Linked DNA regions of Homo sapiens: region 2 is linked to region 1. Evidence: promoter capture Hi-C in human tissues and cell types (Jung and others, 2019). All regions are on one chromosome and are shown on one strand. Each heading gives the region's core, a stretch centred on a gene start or on the middle of the fragment in contact. The rest is flanking DNA. Distances are from core to core; before and after follow the strand shown.

What was found. The method cuts DNA at HindIII sites, captures the fragments that hold promoters and counts their contacts. A contact is called where the count stands out against the background at its distance.
Region 2: a fragment that was not itself captured here is called in contact with the fragment with the promoter of KRTAP19-7 in region 1 in 3 of the 25 tissues and cell types used here (aorta, hippocampus and liver).

Annotation. Positions count from the first base shown.
Region 1 is chr21:30,558,976-30,565,331 of GRCh38, reverse strand. KRTAP19-7 (keratin associated protein 19-7) reads left to right here and starts at 4,018. Exons shown (of 1, transcript NM_181614.3): 1 at 4,018-4,457. The coding sequence starts at 4,043. The coding sequence ends at 4,234. The HindIII fragment of the contact is 12,696 bases long and covers 1-6,356 here.
Region 2 is chr21:30,472,707-30,479,062 of GRCh38, reverse strand. LOC105372772 (a long non-coding RNA gene) reads left to right here and starts at 3,355. Exons shown (of 4, transcript XR_937653.3): 1 at 3,355-3,398; 2 at 4,988-5,043; 3 at 5,605-5,699. The HindIII fragment of the contact is 7,745 bases long and covers 1-6,356 here.

The sequences.
Region 1 (6,356 bases), core at 2,769-5,268:
AGTGCATGAAAGTCTTTAACTTATAATGTTTATCTTATAACTATCTATCTAATTGCACTCTTTTGTTACCCTAATGCATAATTAATTTATTTCCTTATGTTCTGCAAGTATGTGACAATACCATCAGTTTTATAATGATATTTACTATCCATTGTTTCATCTCTAGATCTAGTTTCCCTTCCAGACGTATCGACATACTCTACAGATAAATGATTAATAACAGTGTCAATTGTGGAAATTTTTGCCCTTATTTCAGTATTCATTAGCAAATTATATGCATGATTTTCACAGTGATGGTAAGACCTGTGAGAGTAAGAATATAAACATTTAACAGGACTCTTAAACTGAAGCGATCAGCTTACACAATATAAGAATAAAAATATGATTTAATTTTCCTATAGCAAAATGTTTACAGAGCTATTTAGTAATAAAAAGACATGTCTTTATCCTTTTCAATTATTATCAAAATTGGAATTGTGTCAAGAAAATTATCTGCAGATTAGATATTAGATATTTACAAAATCTTTATAGAAATTTAATGTGTTTGGCTTTAATAATTCCATTTTATAAAGACTCTGATTCTTTCTTGGGTAAACAGAGCTTCCCTACCGTACCCTGAATCATCAGCAATGATTAGATAAGGATAGAAACATATTTTATTCACAAAAATAAACATGTTATTGGATATTGTATATGGCAATAAAGAAACAATGTGAAACTATGAAGCAGCTCTTGGACCATTTTGTCAGGTATTTTTCTATAACAATGTGGCATTGTTCATAATTTTTACACATCTTATCATCTCTAGAGCTTAAAACAGCATCGACTCTTCTCATTGTTTAATCCATATTTCACACAATCTTTGCAATATCAGATAAATACTTTTTTTTTTTCGCTCTTGTCGCCCAGGCTGGAGTGCAGTGGCATGATCTTGGCTCACTGCAGCCTCCGCCTCCCAGGTTCAAGCTATTCTCCTGCCTCAGCCTCCCAAGTAGCTGGGATTACAGGTGGGTGCCACCAGGCCTGGCTAATTTTTCTACTTTTTTTAAGTAGAGACGGGGTTTCGCGATGTTGGCCAGTCTGGTCTCTAACTCCTGACCTCAGGTGATCTACCCGCCTCGGCCTCCCAAAGTGCTGGGATTACAGACGTGAGCCACCGCACCCAGCAAGATAAATACTTTTCAGTGTCTTTTTTTGAACCTTTAATATTACTAGCAACTATTTAGGAAACTGGTCAAGAGAATACAAGGAGCAATTAATTAACATAAGGAGAGGTATATTTTAGATATTAGTATACTAAACAAACACCTTGATAGACAATTTTACTACACACCTCTTGAATATACGTTATACTAAATATAACACATATGGAAGGTGTCATATGTGTTCATATGGGCTGCCTGGCCCATATGAATCTCTCAGTAAGTATTATCTGTTATCTTTGTTTACTTTTAAAATAAAAGTACAAATTGTGTAGACAAAAAATCTATCATCTTATTTGGCTTTTTGCCAATTAATGTATCATTTACATGTGTACTCTCCAGGAAGAATCATCCATAAAAATGTGTTTTTTTCTGGATTGCCAGTGAAAATACTCTGTGCTAGCTTTTAGATGGTTTTAGATGGTTATTTCACTCATTTTGCAATTATTGGGGGTACAATAATGAGGAAAGAAAAGTCTACGTATCATGACCTCATTAAAGTGTCTGATGTCCACAGTCTATTGAGTTAAAAGACATGACGAGGGAATTGGGTCTTTTTCCTTACCTCATGAAGTTTCCGTTTGATGGTTTGATTGTTCCACAGTAGTTTCACAACCACAGAATAATAATGTTGACTTTTATGTGAATATATTTTGTAAAATACATGCTCATTAAAGAAAAAAATAAAGAATTGTTTTAAGAATAAGAGAAGTTCCTAATATTGATATTTGGTAAAATCTTAAAATGTGAATGCACTAGTATCTCAGAAAGATAAAAGACGGTAAAGCGTTTCTTCTCTACAGAAACCAGCGTGAGTCATAGGGTGACTGGGGTCAGTCTAGTCCTATCAGTGCCAAGTGGGAGGTCGTGTGAGCTGAGAATGAGAAGAGGCAGATGACTTGATGCTTCGTGGACAGGCAAAGTTCACATACGTGTTAGCTTCACTTTTAGGAATCAAATAAAGCAGAGGACCCTAGAAAATAATTCCTAGATTGGAGGTTCTGGGATCTTCTATTCCTGATAATAATATTTTCCCTACCAAGCAAATATATCTGGTTTTATCTGGATTGTGACAAGTGCTAAAGATAATAGTCTTTTTAAAAAATTACCTAAAATTATATTGAACCTACATTTTCTTAACTGAAGCAAATTCAAATACAGCAATTCTTTACCATTAATAATTCCCTTCAACTTGTAGTTTGCAAAGTTCCCTCAGGATGGAAATATGTTAAGTACCTAGTTATGTAGCACTTTTAATAAACTGGTAAAGGAAATAAGTTTAATCAGTATAAATGAAGTTCAAAAATAACCTGTATTCTTTGAGGTTCCTGGATAAAGAAAATGTGGCACATATATACCATGGAATACTCTGCAGCCATAAAAAAGGATGAGTTCATGTCCTTTGCAGGGACATGGATGAAGCTGGAACCACCATTCTCAGCAAACTAACACAAGAACAGAAAAGCAAACACCACATGTTCTCACTCATAAGTGGGAGTTAATCAATGAGAACACATGGACACAGGGAGGGGAACATCACACACCAGGGCCTGTCAGGGGGTGGGGGACTAGGGGAGGGACAGCATTAGGAGAAATACCTAACATAGACGATGGGTCGATGGGTGCAGCAAACCACCATGGCACATGTATACCTATGTAACAAACCTGCGCGTTTTGCACATTTACCTCAGTACTTAAAGTGTATATATACATACATACATGTATATATATATATATACATATATATATATATATAGCAGGAGTAGCTGAGCATATATGCTTACTGGTTTCATGTCATTTGCTTTTATTTATATTGATGATATGAAACAAAAATATAAGGCAGCTGGGCATTGTGGGAGAAGATATACCCTAACCTGCAATCTTTGATTTCAAATGCATCTGCTGAACTAAGGCCAATAATCAAAGTACTTAGGTTTTAGTCCTAATCTGCCACTAAGTTTCACTGTTGCGTAACTCTGCTTGTCTCTCTGAATCCATTTTTCTCATCAGTAACAAGAACACTGAAATAAATGATGACTCAAGTCTCTTTAATTCTATAATTATATGATCCTATGATAGTACGAAATTTAGAATCTAGACTAAGATTAAATTTGGGGAGAGGAAACTATTCATAAGGGATTGGCAGGGACTTTATGCACACTTTAATGGTATCTACTAAGCAGGCTGGCTCTACATGAAGCATAATATTTGAGAAATTCCTTTGACATTAATTTGTGACTCTTTTAAAAATTAAATATCATCATTCCACTATAAAATGTGGTTCCCAGCTGACTTTAAAAGCACATTGTATAAAGACATACATCATAGTTGATTGCCATTTCAGAGAACAATAATGTTTCAATTTTTGTGAATTCTTGGCAGAATAAAGATAACATCCTTGGCTTAGAAAAGGCTCAGCAGCCATGGACTGTCAAAGGAAAGAGTGCAATCAGAGGATAAATGTAATTGCATGAGATGCAATTTGAAGAATACTTGAAGCTATAGAGATTTGTTTATGGCATTTGAAACTCAGAAACTCATACATGTACAGTGAATATAAATGCAACTACATTTTATTAGAGGCAAAACACTTATCTAGAAATCCAAATAAAGCAGAAAATAAAACATGTTGTATAATTTCTAAATAACTAGCTTCATAAACAAGGAAGAGAGTGGGATGGGTGTTACAAAACAAGATAGTTGGCATAGTTTTCAGGTAACACGTTCTAAGGGATGACATTTAAAGGTGTGGCTTTCCACATGCATCAGAGTATATATAAATGTTCCTGTCCAGTCACAGTCACCAAACTGACCTACAACAGCTAACCACTTCTGACAACATGAGCTACTCCGGCAGCTACTATGGAGGCCTAGGCTACGGCTGTGGAGGATTCGGTGGCCTGGGCTATGGCTATAGCTGTGGATGTGGCAGCTTCCGCAGACTGGGCTATGGCTGTGGCTATGGAGGCTACAGATACAGCTGCTGCCACCCATCATGCTATGGGGGATACTGGTCTTCTGGATTCTATTGAATAAATACTTGAAATATAGTCTTCTGTGAGATTCCCAATTCTTCCAAGAAACTTTATTCCATAACCATATGGAATTCCATATTCCATAACAAAACAGCTGCTTGGATCACCTGCCTTTTGACAATAGTGTGAAGAAAACTTGATCAACTAGATATTGGCATTTGATTAGTGATGTTCTCCAGATATTCACTTTTTTATTGGCTGGAGAGCCATTATACTCTAAGAAAGATTGTCTTTCAATATCTGATATCTAACCATGAACTTTTTCTCATGTGGTAAATGTGTTTTGAGCCTCAAATTTTTATCACAATAAATGTGCTGTGATGCATTAATATAATCAACCATGGTGATATTTTCTTCTTATAGATAAAAAAATTACCAATACGTTATATGTCACGATTATTTCTTCACCCTCCTCCTCCTCGTCATTCTTCCTGTCCCTTAAACCTTCTTCCTCCCTTTCCATCCCTTTCCTCTCCTTTATCTTCTTTTCTTTATCCCCTTCTCCTTTGTCTTCTTCCTCCTCCTCATCTTTAACATTCTCAATATCTATATTTTCTTGTCCAGGCAAACAGGAATTCTACACCAAAAGGTTAAAGATGCTTCTGTGGTGATAAACTTCTGCTTAATCTTTTAATTCACTATTTCTTGGAGAATATCTTGATAATTTCAGAGCAATATAATAAGAAAAGGTTTTAGCTTGCACATAGATTATAACATTGGAGAACAACAGTGTGAAGGAATTATATCAAAGTATTAACAATAGCTTTATCTAGGAGATGGGAATATGGTGGCTGGTGTAATAGTTATTCTTTCTTCTTTTGTGTATGTTTAAAAAATTGCATAGAAAAAAAGCTATAAAACAAAGCTCGGGCCAATTTATTCCATCTTCAAATACATATTATCTGATTAAATTAAATGTATAAAAAGTGGACCCAAGAAGAAATACGAACCTGAATATTTCTATATGTCATAAAGAAGTGGAATTCATGAATCCATTTTGACAAATATGCAAATTTAAGACTAGATGATTTCACCAGTTAATTCTGAACAGTTTCTCTTTCAGAGAATAAGATAAGATAAAACACTAAGACTCTTCTGTACTTTTTTTTTAAGGTTAGCTGTATTAGTTCATTCTTCCATTTCTATAAAGAAATACCTGAGACTGGGTAATTTATAAAGAAAAGAAGTTTAATTGGCTCATGATTCCTCTGGCTGTACAGGAAGAATGATGCAGGCCATCTACTGGTCTCCAGGGAAGGCCTCAGGAAACTTACAATAATGGTGGAAGAGGAAGGGGAAGCAGGTGGAAGGTGAAGGGCAAACAAGAAATCATGGTGGAGCAGGAAGAAGAGAGAGAAAGTGGAGGTGCTATACACTTTTAAACAACCAGATCTCATGGGAACTCACTCACTGTCATGACAGCACCAAGGCGGACAGTGTTAAACCATAAGAAACTGCCCCCATGAGCTAATCATCTCCCACCAGGCCCCACCTCCAGCACTGGGGATTACAATTCGACATGAGATTTGGATGGGGACACTAATCCAAAGAATATCATTCTGCCCCCTGCCCCTCCCAAATCTCATGCCCTTCTCACATTGCAAAATACAATGATTTCTTCTCAACATCCCCCAAAATCTTAACTCATTCCAGCATTAACTCAAAAGTTCTCAGTCCAAAATCTCATTTGAGACAAGGCTAGTCTCTTCCACCTATGAGCCTGTAAACTCAAAAACAAATTAGTTACTTCCAAGAAACAATGAGGGTATAGGCAATGGGTAAATACTCCCATTCCAAAAAGGGAGAAATCATCCAAAAGAAAAGGGCTACAGGCACCATGTAAGTTTAAAACCCAACAGGGCAGTCATTAAATCTTAAAGATCCAAAATAATGAGACTGGGTAATTTAAAAAGAAAAGAGATTTAATTGACTTACAGTTCCACATGGCTGTGGAGGCCTCAGGAAACTTATAACCATGGCGGAAGGCAAAGGGGAAGCAAGGCATGTCTTACATGGCGGCAGGAGAGGGAGAGCGAGGATGAAAGTGCCACAATTTTAATGAGCTCACTCATTATCATGAAAGCAGCATGGGGGAAATCCGCAACCATGAGCCAATCAC
Region 2 (6,356 bases), core at 2,362-4,861, 86 kb after region 1:
CCATTTTTGCCTTGACTGCCTGTGCTTACTGGGTATTACTCAAGAAATTTTTGCCCAGACCAACATCCTGGGAGATTCTTGTGTTAAGTGAAATAAACCAGGCACAGGAGGACAAATGTCATATGTTCTCACTTATTTGTGGGATCTAAAAATCAAAGCAATGGAACTCATGGAGGTAGAGAATAGAAGGACAGTTACTAAAGTCTGGGAAGGGTATTTGGGGAGGGGACTGGGGCTGGTTAATAGGTGCAAAAAAAATAGAAAGAATAAATAATGACTTAGTATTTGATAGCACAACTAGGGGACTATTGTCAATAATAATTCAATTGTACATTTTAAAATAACTTGGAGAGTAAAATTGGATTGTTTGTAACACAAAGGATAAATGCTTGAGGACAGGGCTACCCCATTTCCCATGATGTGATTATTACACTTTGAAAGCCTCTACCAAAATATCTCATGTAACTCATAAATATATGTACCTACTATGTCCCCACAAAAGTAAAAAAATTAAAAAAAATTAAAAGAAAGAAAAATTGGGATAAGCCGGAGGGATGCTTTCTGATTTTTTTGTTGCACCCTATTAGAGGCTCTTAACAGTCTATATGGCTTGTCGTGAATGGATGATGACACAAAGTCACATGAGAATAATACACAGGAGGCTTTACTGATAAGAAACCTTCTGGGCTGTCAACTCTGGCTTCATTTCTCAGTCAAGTTCAAGGAGCCTGGCTCTCTTTTCTCTAGGAATTTTTTCTCACCCAAAAAATTCTTCCGTTCCTTTCAGGCTTGTTTTACAAGTTCATCACCCGTGGCCAGGCATCTTGGAACACCAACAGTAAACACAGATAGAACCGTCCTCTGCAATGTTTCTCAGTCAACTTTCAAAGTAGCAAGAGAAGCCTGTTTCACCAGTTTGTCTGACATGACTAGGCATGTCTGAATCCACTTAAATTCAAATTTGGACCCCTACTATTTATCTTAGAAAATCTTTTTATCCTTTTGTAAATCTAAAAGAGGAACACTATTTATAAATAATTTCCATAGAAAAAGTGTTACCTTTTTGTCTATACTATAGTTTTGATTTCAAATTAAGAAACTAAACAATGGAAGCAAAAAAATGGAGAGAAGAAAAGAAAGAAGCAAGAGAGAAATCAAAAAAGAAAGAGAGAGAAAAATTCATAAGTTAAGGGCCCAATCACATTTAGAACACATTCCATGTTTTATTTTATTTTATTTTTTAATTGGCACAATAATGGTATGTATTTATGGGGCACAGAGTGAAGCTTTGATATATATAATGTAATCAGATCAGGATAATGAGCATGGATAATTGATCTTTTGTGAAGCTGAAATGAGAACCAGATATAATACCTGTCCAAGTGCTGTTAAACTGAAAGACAGTGATTTAAAGACCCTTCAGCAGCTACCCTTGGCAAATGCTTAATTTTGCTAGTGAGGTTTTGCAATCTAAGTTTTAGTAAGTTCTAAATTCCTTGGACAAAATAGAAGAGTTAATTAATTATTTAATTAAGCTAATTTTTAGCTTTAGCTAATTATTTTATGTTCTAACAACAACAACAAAAAATCTACAGGAGAATAGCCCGTAGCCCCTGTAGATTATAGGAACTGTAGTTACTATTCTGTATGATTTCGATCTTTGATTTTTTTATTGTCCTTTGTCAACTCTAAAATTTAACAATGTGTGAATTAGTCTGCATATTTATATTTGCTCTATGAGGGTTGTAAGCATATATAAAGCTTCCCTTTATAAACATATAAAAAATGGTGGGTGCTTTTAGAGAACAATTATTTAGAATGTACAGTATGTGACTAGTCAACCTAATTTTCTCCAGACAGACATTATATCCTACTAAAGATGACCTTGAAGATAGAATATCTGTTACCTTTTTACTACACCACACTTTCTATTTCAAATTAGAAAACCAAAAAAGGGAAGCAAAAACAACAAAAATCATCCTCATTAGGTTTAAGTGCTGGCCTTACTTGAAGGTCTTTTTGATTTCCGATCTAAACTGTCCAGGTGCTGTTAAATTTGATTTGTTCCCAAATATAATTTGTGATGCTCCTGAATGTCATGGCTTTTAAAAGTATATTGCAAAAGATGTTTTTATTCTTGGTTAGATTGTTAAAGAATTGGAAGCTGGGAACGTGAAAGATATTTCTAAATTGCAGTCAGTAAGTAGTTCTGCTGGGAGAACTGAATTTCTGTTGATTTCTATTACAGTATATCAGTAAGATATACTGTAGAACTCACCTTCAAAATTTAAAATATACTACAGAACATACAATTCTTATGAATGCAAGTAGAGGGGGAATTTCCTGATGAAAACTATAAATTCTAATTTTGAGGAAGGTATAATAGTGTCATGTGTACCTAGTCATGCTTGTGCATAGTGATTGCATAATTTAGGATCCAAGATTAATGTTAAAGGATAAAATTGGAGAATGAATAATTTCTTGAAACATGGATACAAAAAGTAAAATTTCTTTCTTCCACCGAAAAAGTTTTTTCAGACATAATAATCATGGTCACATCTTACTACTGCACTCAGATTGGTCACAGAAACCTCTAATAATGCAAATCAATATAAAAACTCTTTAATCAATTAAAAATGCTCTATTACTATGAAAGATCAATTGAATCAATATTGTATTGGATATGTGTATAGAATAAAAATTCAGGATACCTGAGCAATTTGGTAATCTGAATAAAAGTATTCCCTTTTATTGGAAATATGTTTGACAGACATCACTGCTGGCCTCTGAAGTTTAGAGGACTAGGTTGCAGCTATGAATCCATCTATGGTTTGAGCTACTAACTTGGAGATTCTAAGGCTTAATATTGTTATATATTTAGTTATGTTTCTGCCAAGCACCTTACTATGGGTTGTAGAGACCATGTGGATTCTATTGTTTAATTGGTTGACAAGGACAACCAATTTGTGATCGCTACAGCCACTCAAGTCAGAATATGGAGAAGCTTCACATGTCTCCTCTGTCATCTCCATAGCCAATTGGTAGCTATTTTGTGCTATCTTCTTAACAGATACATAAAATATATAATTCTTTATAAATATATTCAATTTCATTTTACCTTTTATCTAATGCTGATGGTCATAATTTGCCACTTGGACTATGGCTGCACCTTTTCATCTATTCCTATCTGATCTCCAAAACTCAAAACCTGCCACCTTTCTTTAGTCCCTTTGTTAAAAGTTATTTGTTCAAAATGACTCCTTATATCTCTCCCTGGAATGACACATAATGCTGCTATTATGATGAAAACAATGAAGCGCTCAATATGCTGATATGGAAGGAAATTTTATTAAAAGGCAAGTTACAGAAGAGCCTGGACCATGCAGTTGGCTCATCAGGTATGATATTACACTCAGCAAACACCGACTGAATTAATATGTGTATTTACCTAAATGATCCATAATCTTGTTAAATATCTGCCTTTATACTAGCTCCTCCTTTACCTTGCATGCGCTGCTCTTCACTTCTCAAAAAGAGTTCCTACTCATCTTCAAAATTTAACTTAAGGGATTTCTGGGTCAAATGGTATTTCTGGTTCTAGATCCTTGAGGAATCGCCACACTGTCTTCCACAGTGGTTGAACTAATTTACACTCCCACCAACAGTGTAAAATTCCTATTTCTCCACACCCTCGCCAGCATCTGTTGTTTCCTGACTTTTTAATAATCACCATTATGACTGGTGTGAGATGATATCTCACTGTGGTTTTGATTTGCATTTCTCTGATGACCAGTGATGATGAGCTTTTTTTCATATGTTTGTTGGCTGCATAAATGTCTTCTTTTGAGAAGCGTCTGTTTATATAATTTGCATGCCTTTTGATGGGGTTGTTTGGTTTTTTTCTTGTAAATTTGTTTAAGTTCCTTGTAGATTCTTGATATTAGACCTTTGTCAGATGGGTAGATTGCAAACATTTTCTCCCATATACCCAAAGGATTATAAATAATTCTACTATAAAGACACATGCTCATGTAGGTTTATTTCCACACTATTTACAATAGCAAAGACTTGGAACCAACCCAAATGCCCATCAAGAATTGACTGGATAAAGAAAATGTGGCACATATACACCATGGAATACTACAAAGCTATAAAAAAGAATGAGATATGTCCTTTTAAGGGACATGAATGAAGCTGGAAGCCATCATTCTCAGCAAACTAACACAGAAACAGAAAACCAAACACAGCATGTTCTCACTCATAATTGGGAGCTGAACAATGAGAACACATGGACACAGGGAAGGGAACGTCACACACAGGGGCCTGTCAGGGGGTGGGAAGCAAGGGGAGGGAGAGCATTAGGACAAATACCTAATGCATGCAGGGCTTGAAACTGAGATGTTGTGTTGATGGGTGCAGCAAACCACCATGGCACATGTATACCTATGTAACAAACCTGCACGTTCTGCACATGTATTCAGAACTTAAAGTAAAATAAAAATTTAAAAAATTTAAGTATCTTCTCTTGAGATGCCTTCCAGATTCCAGCAGTCACTTGACAGCATCATGCACAAATGTCGCTTTTGCATAGAGGTCTTCCCTGAGATGCTATTGGCCTGTGGTCGTTTATATAGCCTTTTCTTCATAGCACTTATCACCAAGAGATGCTATACACTTGCTAGTTGACTCACATATTTTGTATCTCCCCAGGACATGGAAGCGACATATGGGCAGAAATTTAATCTCTTTTACTCATCTGTGCATCCACAGGGCCTAGAATAATGCCTGGCTTACAGAAAGTATTTCATAAAATATGTGCCAAATAAATCTATCATAGTGCCAAACCATTGGTTATTAATTTATATGCCAGTATCCTCATTGAATCCTGTGTCCTTTTCTTATAATAATATGATTTTATTGATGAAAATGTAGAAAAGCTCTACTTTTATGCTAAATTAATATCATGTTTTATTTATCTTTTCCATAGGTAGACATTAACTTCTGCAATGTGCTGGACGCTCTTTTAAGTTTACAGGCATAAACGTAAGCCAACTGCAACTGCAATATAGCTAGTAAAGATGGTTCATATTTATTTTCTGCCTTTCATGACATGTCACACATAAACTTCACACATTATAAGGTATATGATTTTGTTATTCCTGTGGAATAGGTGAGGAAATTGCACTTTGGAAAATTTAAATAACTTCCACAAACCATGCAATAGTGAGTTGTGAGGTATTATAACCTGTGATAAATTAAAAAGTATTTTGACTCTAAGCATAAGTTTGTGCACCTGAGCAGTGAAGGCGAGGCAAATGCCCCTAAAGAAGGTCCAATGTTTTAATCATAGGATGTCACTGGTCACATTTAAGAAGTAGAGGTGCCAGTCAAAATTCTTCTATGGTATCATCAGGAGAGATATACCTTGATCTCCCTCTCTCACTTTGCAGATTTATGTTCACCCATTTTTTGTTCTCAACTGTCTCTGAGAAAGAAGTTTTCCTTCTCCCCTGTAAGACTTGAGGCATTCATTTTTCCTTTTTTTCTCTTTCTTATCTTGTGGCTTATTGTTTTATTCACTATTACCTATCCTTCTATTTGGAGTTTCCCCTTGTAGGAAGACACCTGAAATTGACCTACCTGGAACCACCATCTATATTCTGGGATACTGTGCTTCAGTCTTTTAGAAACTCTTTGAGGTATTTGTATGCTAAAAAAGTAAAGCTCAGAGAGGCTAAAAAATTCCTAAAGTTGGATGTTTATACAAGGCAAAGCTGGGTTTTCAACCCAGGAAGTCTGAGTGCAATATACTATCTTCAGACATACACAAAGTCCTATGAAAAACACAACCAAAGAAACCAAGGTTAAAACCTCAGTGTCCTCTTGGTCTATCTTTAAGTTGACTGTCATCTCTTCCCCTTTTCTTCATGTCACTGAATGACCTAAAGGAATACTTGCACCCCCTCTGCATTCTCTCTCTTCCTCTGTACCTCATTTCTAGTGCAGTCTTCCATCCTCCTCCAATAGTCTGTCACCTAGTTGAAGCTAATGCAGTAAATGTTCCAAACAACTTCTTTATTGGCAAATCCAGTGTCATCCTCAAAGTTTTGTTGAGATGCAGTGTCACTAGGTGGTTAGGCATGAACTTTCTGAAGGCAAATTCACCTAAGTCAGACTGTCAGCTCTGTTACTTTCCAAGGTGACCTTGGAAAAGTTACTTAAACCCATTGGATTTCAGCGTTCTCATCTGTAAAACTGGGGTAACAATAGCAACAATTTCATAGGATCCTTGTGAGGATTAAATGAGTAACGCATACAAAACCTCAAAGCATAGCTTGTCATATAGTCTGCAATCA